Regions from separate parts of the Homo sapiens genome. Here region 2 is linked to region 1. Evidence: promoter capture Hi-C in human tissues and cell types (Jung and others, 2019). All regions are on one chromosome and are shown on one strand. The core of a region is centred on a gene start or on the middle of the fragment in contact, and the rest is flanking DNA. Distances in the headings are between cores, read along the strand shown.

Evidence for each region. Contacts are between HindIII fragments. The study calls those that stand out against the background at their distance.
Region 2: a contact is called between a fragment that was not itself captured here and the fragment with the promoter of CLEC2L in region 1, in 1 of the 25 tissues and cell types used here (dorsolateral prefrontal cortex).

The regions. Positions count from the first base shown.
Region 1 is chr7:139,521,613-139,525,191 of GRCh38, forward strand. It overlaps CLEC2L (C-type lectin domain family 2 member L), which reads left to right and starts at 2,073. Exons shown (of 5, transcript NM_001080511.4): 1 at 2,073-2,505. The coding sequence starts at 2,316. The HindIII fragment of the contact is 23,998 bases long and covers 1-3,579 here.
Region 2 is chr7:140,908,267-140,911,921 of GRCh38, forward strand. All of the region lies in intron 1 of BRAF (B-Raf proto-oncogene, serine/threonine kinase), which reads right to left. Among named protein-coding and RNA genes, the nearest start is that of BRAF, 15 kb to the right of the region's middle. The HindIII fragment of the contact is 4,458 bases long and covers 1-3,655 here.

The sequences.
Region 1 (3,579 bases), core at 823-3,322:
TTCCTCTTTCTGTAATCTGGTGTGCAGGTGTGATGGCTGGAACCACAGTGGCTATAGTGTGACCATGAGGGAATCCTGAAGATGTAGGCTATATACTAAGGATGATGGGAGCAGAATGAGAGGAAGAGCTAGGGTCCCTGATGATCTTGGAGCTCTCAATCCAGCCCTGGGCTGATCACCTCTAGACTTCTTTCAGGTAAAAAAAACACAAAAAACCAAAAAACAAAAAACAAAAACCTTCTTTCTAGTTAAACTCTTACTGGGGTTTTCTGTTGTAGTCTTGTTGAACCTACTCTGAATGAATGCAGTATCCTAGAGACTGTGCAATCAGAAGCATTAGCAGAAATTTGGTAGGCAAACTAGGGTGCATGGGGGCTACAAGGAGGGGTTAGAAGGACCAAGGAGGAGATGTGTTCCAGGCAGAAGGAAGACAGTGTTCAAAGGCCCAGAGGAAAGAGTCAGAATAGTTAGGTGTGTCTAGGGCTGGCAGAGAAGGGGTGGGAGGAGAGGATGCCTTAGGTAGGAGCAGGACTTTGACCATGAGGGACCTTGAGGCCTTGTAAAAAGATGGCCTTAATCCACAGGTAAAGGGACCCCTGAAGGAGTGGTGAGTTTGCACTTTAGGTAGATGCTGCGGGTGTGGAGGGGGAGGGGCTGGATAGGAGGGAGCAAGAGTGGAGGATGGGAGACCCCTTAGAAGGCTGCTGCTGTGGTCGGGCAAGAGAAGGCATTGGCTTGTACTTGGCCAGTGGCTAGAGGGATGGAGTGCAATGCGCAGACTAAGAGTTTAAAAGGGGCCGGGCGGCCGGGCGCGGTGGCTCACGCCTGTAATCCCAGCACTTTGGGAGGCCGAGGCGGGCGGATCACGAGGTCAGGAGATCGAGACCATCCCGGCTAAAACGGTGAAACCCCGTCTCTACTAAAAATACAAAAAAATTAGCCGGGCGTAGTGGCGGGCGCCTGTAGTCCCAGCTACTTGGGAGGCTGAGGCAGGAGAATGGCGTGAACCCGGGAGGCGGAGCTTGCAGTGAGCCGAGATCCCGCCACTGCACTCCAGCCTGGGCGACAGAGCGAGACTCCGTCTCAAAAAAAAAAAAAAAAAAAAAAAGGGGCCGGGCACGGCAGCTCACGCCTGCAATCCTAGAACTTTGGGAGACCCAGGTGGGAGGATCGCTTGAGCCTGGGAGGCCGAGGCTGTAGTGACACTGCACTCCAGCCTGGGCTACAGAACGAGACCCTGTCTCAAAAAATAAAAATAAAAATATTTTAAAAGGGAGAATTCACAAGAGTCAGTGGCCTATTGGATTTGGGGGAGGGAGCAGGAGGAGCTGGGGATGAGGAACTGAAGATGGAGACAGGAACCAGAGGTTGGGGCTGAGAATGGTGGAGGGGGAAGAGGATCAGGGCTGGAGGCGTGGGGCTTCAGGCGACGCGAGGTCAGCTGAGGCAAGGGGCCAGTGAAGGCTCCGGAGGGAGCCCTGGCCTGGGAGTCAGACACCCGCCAAGCACGCACCTGCCTGGCGCCGCCTTCGGAAATGTCCTTGACCTCAAAATTCCACTTCTCAGCCTCACCTGGGGGCATTGTCAGCTAATAATATGTGAAAGTCCCTGGCGCTTAGTAGGTGCTCAATAAATGTTAATTGAATCTGCAACGTCACTTCGCTTGCTCCTTTAGACTCTACTGTCTCTGTGCTCATCGTTCGGACGTTTCTCTCCTTTATCAAGAGTTTGGGGGTCAAGTCACAGCCCCTACCACCCTCTGCTGTGGCTCCAGGGCAGCCGGGAAGAAAGGCGCTCATCTTCCCTGAGCCTCCCTGCACTGTCCCCGCGAACTTTATTCCCATTTTCACAGATGGTGAGCAGGCGGCTGGGGAGATGGAGCTGAGTTAGAACCAGGTCTCCCGGCTCCAAGACTGCGCTCCCAGCTCGACAGCATCCAGCCTCCAGCCCAGGTGGCGGGGTCGGGGAGCCGGCTGTCCCCGCTCCTCCGCGCCTCCTCCCTCTCCGCCCCTGCCCCGCCCCGCCCGGGTCCACGGCTCCCGGCTCCCGCGCGCCGCCTCGCGCTCCTCCCCAGCCCGGCTGTGCGTGGAGGCTGCGGCTCGGCGGGGCAGGCGCTGAGCGCACCGCGGCGGCACCCGGCGCAGAGGCTCCAGCGCGGGGAGCCGGGCTCAGCCCCGGCCTGCCAGCGCCGCGGTCCTAGCCCACCCGAGGCCGGCCTGGGGGGCCCGCAGGGCGCGCGGAGCGCCGAGTGCGCGTCGGGCTGGGCCCCGCACCCCGGTGCAGGAGCGCGGGCGCGGCGCGGCGGAGCGCCCCGCATGGAGCCGGCCCGGGAGCCCCCCTCGCGGGCCCGGCCGCCGCCGCCCCTCGCCGCGCGCCCCGCGCCCGCCCCCGCCGCCCCCAGGCCGCGTTCGCCCGCAGAGGCTGAGGCCCGCGGCCCCGAGGGGCTGCTGCGGCGATCCGGGTCGGGCTACGAGGGCAGCACCAGCTGGAAGGCGGCCTTGGAGGGTAAGCGCGGAGCGGCCTCCCTCTCCTGGCCCAGGGACCCCTGCCCAGGCCCGACCCGCGACCCGGAGGCGGTCAGAGTCACCTTGGCCGCTGTCCCGGAGGGGAGCGCTGGGAGCGCGGCGCCGGGACGCGGCGGAGTCATTCATTTCAGGGCGGCCAGACGCCGGTTCGTGGGGTGGGGTGGGAGGGAACCGGGGGCCACCGCGAGTCACAGCCTCGACCCCGCCTCTGCTGCGACTCCCTCTCTGACCTTGGAGCGGGCTTCACGCTCTGAGCCTTCGTCTCCTCACGCATGAAGGGGACAAACACTGCCTGACACCCACCAGACAGGCGTGTTGAGAGGGTGGCGGAATCTGTGGTCGTGAACACGCTTCGAGTAAAGTAAGAAAGCTGGAGACCCCAGAGGTGGTGCCCGCCCCTGTGAGAGCCGCGGGGACCCCGTGGTGGTGGGGCATGTGGGGAGGGCAGGGCAGGGCAGGGGTGGAGAATCCAGGAGAGGCTCTTCCTTGCAAGGTCAGGGGTCACACCTACTCCTCCATCAGACTGCCTCAGGGAGGGACCCCTGGCCTGCCTCCGGGGCAGTAACCCAAGTAGAGAATTGATTTCAAGTTCATGAGCTCTTTAAGGAAACTTGTATTAGCTACCGCCGGCGGCGTGTGGTGTGGGAGATGCAGGAGTTGGTGAGAGGGTGGCTGGCCCTTTGGGTGCTTCTCAGGGTGCTCCTGGCACCCTGAATCCAAGGACAAGGAGGACCTGGGCAGCATTAACTAGGGAAGCCTGGAGCCTGGATCACCCATCCTTAGGGAGGCAGTGTCAGAAAAGGAGGGCTTCCCAGGAGTAGGTGACCTCTTAGCAGGCGTGGAGACAGAGGGGAAGGTGTTCCAGACCCAGAGCATGACGTATCCCAGGCCAGGTGGTCAGAGCTACTCTGTGCCACGTGGGAACTGAGCCCTGGAGTACTGAGATGGGGCAGGGTGGAGAGAGACGGGCCTGAAGGACCCAGACGGTGAAGGGCCAGCCAGGCCTTGCCCAGGAGCTTGGACTTTGTTCTGAAGGGGCTACTGAGGGGTGGAG
Region 2 (3,655 bases), core at 965-3,464, 1.4 Mb after region 1:
CAAATTTTAATTACATTGCTGAAAGAATTCTACATATATATTACATATTATATATCTCTCAGGTAATTTTGCTTGCTAATTTTTTTATTTTTACTATGTTTGATTACTTGTGACAATGTACTGTTCATTGTCCTTGAAAAATTACTGGAAGCAATTCCCTAGAATGAAAGGCCTTTCTCCACACGTGATTTGCCTTTCCATCTGCCAGGCCATGGAAGTAATACTAGTCTGAAACCAGTAACCATGATAAATGGCTGGAGGGTCATTTATCATGGAGGGTCCCTGGACCACCCAGACAGAGCAAACCCTCAAGGCAAATCACTGTGAAGGCTAAAACTGTGGTCACAACTTGAAAGGTTTATTTTTCTTAATTTCCTTTTCCTCCTCCTGCTCCATTCAACCTTCCCTGCAATCACATGGATATGGGAGTGTGTAGACAGTTCAGTTGTTTCACCCTTAACCTAACGATAGAGTCACTGGGGTCCCATCTAAAACTGAGGTTATTCTTTTTGACTGTCACTTTAGATGAACTCTAGGACTTGATTTCTGTCCTCTTCACCCCAATGGTCCACCAAAACCAAAGCCCAACTTGTACAGATTGGCAACTGCCTTTAGGGCAAAAGCTACTTCATCCACTTATTTATTTGGATTCTTGTTTATTCCTAGAATTTGGCCTGGCAGCTCCCCACTATCTTTTCAGCTCTGCAACTGCTCTACGTTTTCTTTTTTTTTTTTTTTTTTTAATACTGTTTCCAAGAATTTTAATTGTTTTCATCTGAATAACCCAGTCTTCCAATACTGAAAACAGAAATCAATTTCTCCTTTTTACAACAACTATTTTGTACATTCTCTATACTACCCTTAAATGTAATTCAGAGGCTGGGCACAGTGGTTCATGCCTGTAATCCCAGCACTTTGGGAGGCCGAGGCGGGCAGATCACCTGAGGTCGGGAGTTCAAGACAAGCCTGACCAACATGGAAAACCCCCGTCTCTAATAAAAATACAAAATTAGCCGGGCATGGTGGCACATGCCTGTAATCCCAGCTACTTGGGAGGCTGAGGCAGGAGAATCGCTTGAACCCGGGAGGCGAAGGTTTTGGTGAGCACGCCATTGTACTCCACCCTGGGCAATAAGAGCAAAACTCCGTCACAAAAATAAAAATAAAAAATAAATGTAATTCAGAGATAATCTACCTTAGTGCAATTTTATAATATTTAGGCTATTACTATAATAAATAACACACTGATGGTACTTTGTACATATATACAACAAGCACTGTGACTGTGGCAGTTACAACTGCAGACTGAAGAGTATTTGCGTCACCAATACAGCACAAGTGACACTGCCATCAATTACGTGATTTTCTAAAGGGGTGGAGTACTCCTGATAAAGTTCTGAACAAAAACTTTAACATTCCTCCAATATTGTGGTAACTGAATTCCTGAAAATCTTAGTGTATATTAAAGGTGCCTCAGTTACAGTGAGCCTAGATGGTGCCACTGCATTTCAGCCTGGGCAACAAGAGCGAAACTCCGTCTCAAAACAACAACAACAACAACAACAACAACAACAACAACAAAAAAGTGCCTCATACACAAAATGGAGTTACTGTCTATGCTCACATCATTATGATCACTTTTTTTTTTTAACCTACATCATCAAAGTCCAGCAAGTCATTCTAGGTCATGTGGTGATTTGGAACAATTCTTAAATGTGCAAACTGTCCTGAACATTGTGGGATGGCTGACTTCCCTGATCCTTTCTCATTAAATGCTAATAGTGTCCTCTTCCTCCATCTTTGTAACAACCAAAATACCTCCGAGTATTTCATCTCATTGCATGCAATATAAAGTGCACTTTTTGTCAGCCTATCACTTTTTCCTACAATCCAGTCCCATCTAATTTTGTCAAATTTTATTTCATACAATTTGCTCAACTATAATCAGCTCATTGTTTCTTAACCAAAACTAACATATGTATTTCCAACTCCAATTCTTTGCAAATTCTATTCCCACTGCCTATTACATCCTTTTGTCTTCCTTCTACCTACCTAAATTAAACCTTAACTTCCATCAAGACCTCACTAGCCCATAACAACTTCCCATGTCTTCTTGATCTGTTATCCACTTTGGTGGTTAATCACGTGCTGCCATATGCATGCTTTGTCTCTTCAATTAACAGTGTTATTGTTTAGAAGACTTTTTTCCCCTCCAAATGAAATCCCAAGCACAATTCCAATATATTAATTTATGAAGTAGAACTGCTTTGGTTGAAACAGAAATTGCCCACCTACCCCCACAAACCAGAGGCTGGCCACTTGAGTTTCTTCCTTACCATCCCCAGTTCTCAGACCAGTCCTTGAGGTAATCTTGTAACACCCAATTTTTTCAGTCCTAAAGGGGAAAAAATACACTTTTTTTTTGAGAGGGTGACTCCTGCTCTGTCACCCAGGCAGGAGTGCAGTGGTGTGATCATAGCTCACTGCAGCCGTGAACTGGGTTCAAGCAATCCTCCCGCCCTCAGCCTCCCAAGTAGCTGGGACTACATGTGGATGCCACCACACTCAGCTAATTTTTTGTAGAGACAGGGGCTCGCTATGTTGCCCAGGCTGATCTCAAAGTCCTGGCTTCAAGCAGTCGTCCCGCCTCAGCCTCCCATATTGCTGGGATTACAGATGCCAGCCACCACATCCAACCAAAACGCTAACTTCGCAGGACTGAAGAACTCAGTGCTGTGTAAATCAACATAATCTTGAAAACAAACTGAAAAGCCATGGTTAAAGACAGAAATCTAGAGAACAAAACTGCCATATTCTAGGTGAGTTATAACTATGCAGACTAAGAGTACCGAAAAAGAATTCAGTCATTTAAGTATTAGACAGTATTATTGTTAAGCAACGAGAGAATAAGTATGAATCCCACACACTCTTGACTTTGAAGGGGTCTAGAACTGCACTGATTAAAGCAGCCACTAGCCATCAGGCTAGTTATTTTTAAATTAATTAAAATGAAATAAAATTTAGTTCCTCAGTCCTGCTATGCAAATTTGAAGTGCACAGTAGCCACATAGATACGGCTACTGTCTACCATATTAAGACGACACTGAACATTTCCATCATCACAGAAAGTATGACTGAACAGTGCAGGTCTAGAGGAAAAAGAAATACCTATTAACAAAAAAACCCCACAATACGATATAGTGAGTAAAACAAGGTAAACTCTGGGATTCTACAAAAGCACAAAGCAGAGGCATCAAACTAGGACTTGGAAAGAGGTTAAGAAAAGCTTCCTACAATAAACGGTAGGTGAGGTAAGTCTGGAAGGTTTGGAGGGTGGGATGGGGGAGGAAATCTGTATTTCAGGTGGTAGGAAAAACATGAGCAAAGACAAGTCAAATTTGGAGAGTGTTTGAAAGAAAGTAATGATGAGATTATGTTATTCTACATAGAAAAACCAGTAAGTATTTGATACAGAAAAGATGAAGAAAATTTTTTTAAAAGAAAAGCAGTTACCAGACCACTCCAAATTTAGCCTACATTCATGGCAGGATAGTGGCAGGTACTTCATTAAGGAGTAATAAATTCATGTTCTATTTCCCAATGATTCCATGTTTGAGTCCAAATGAAAATGACTCATATTGAGTGTTTAAATTGC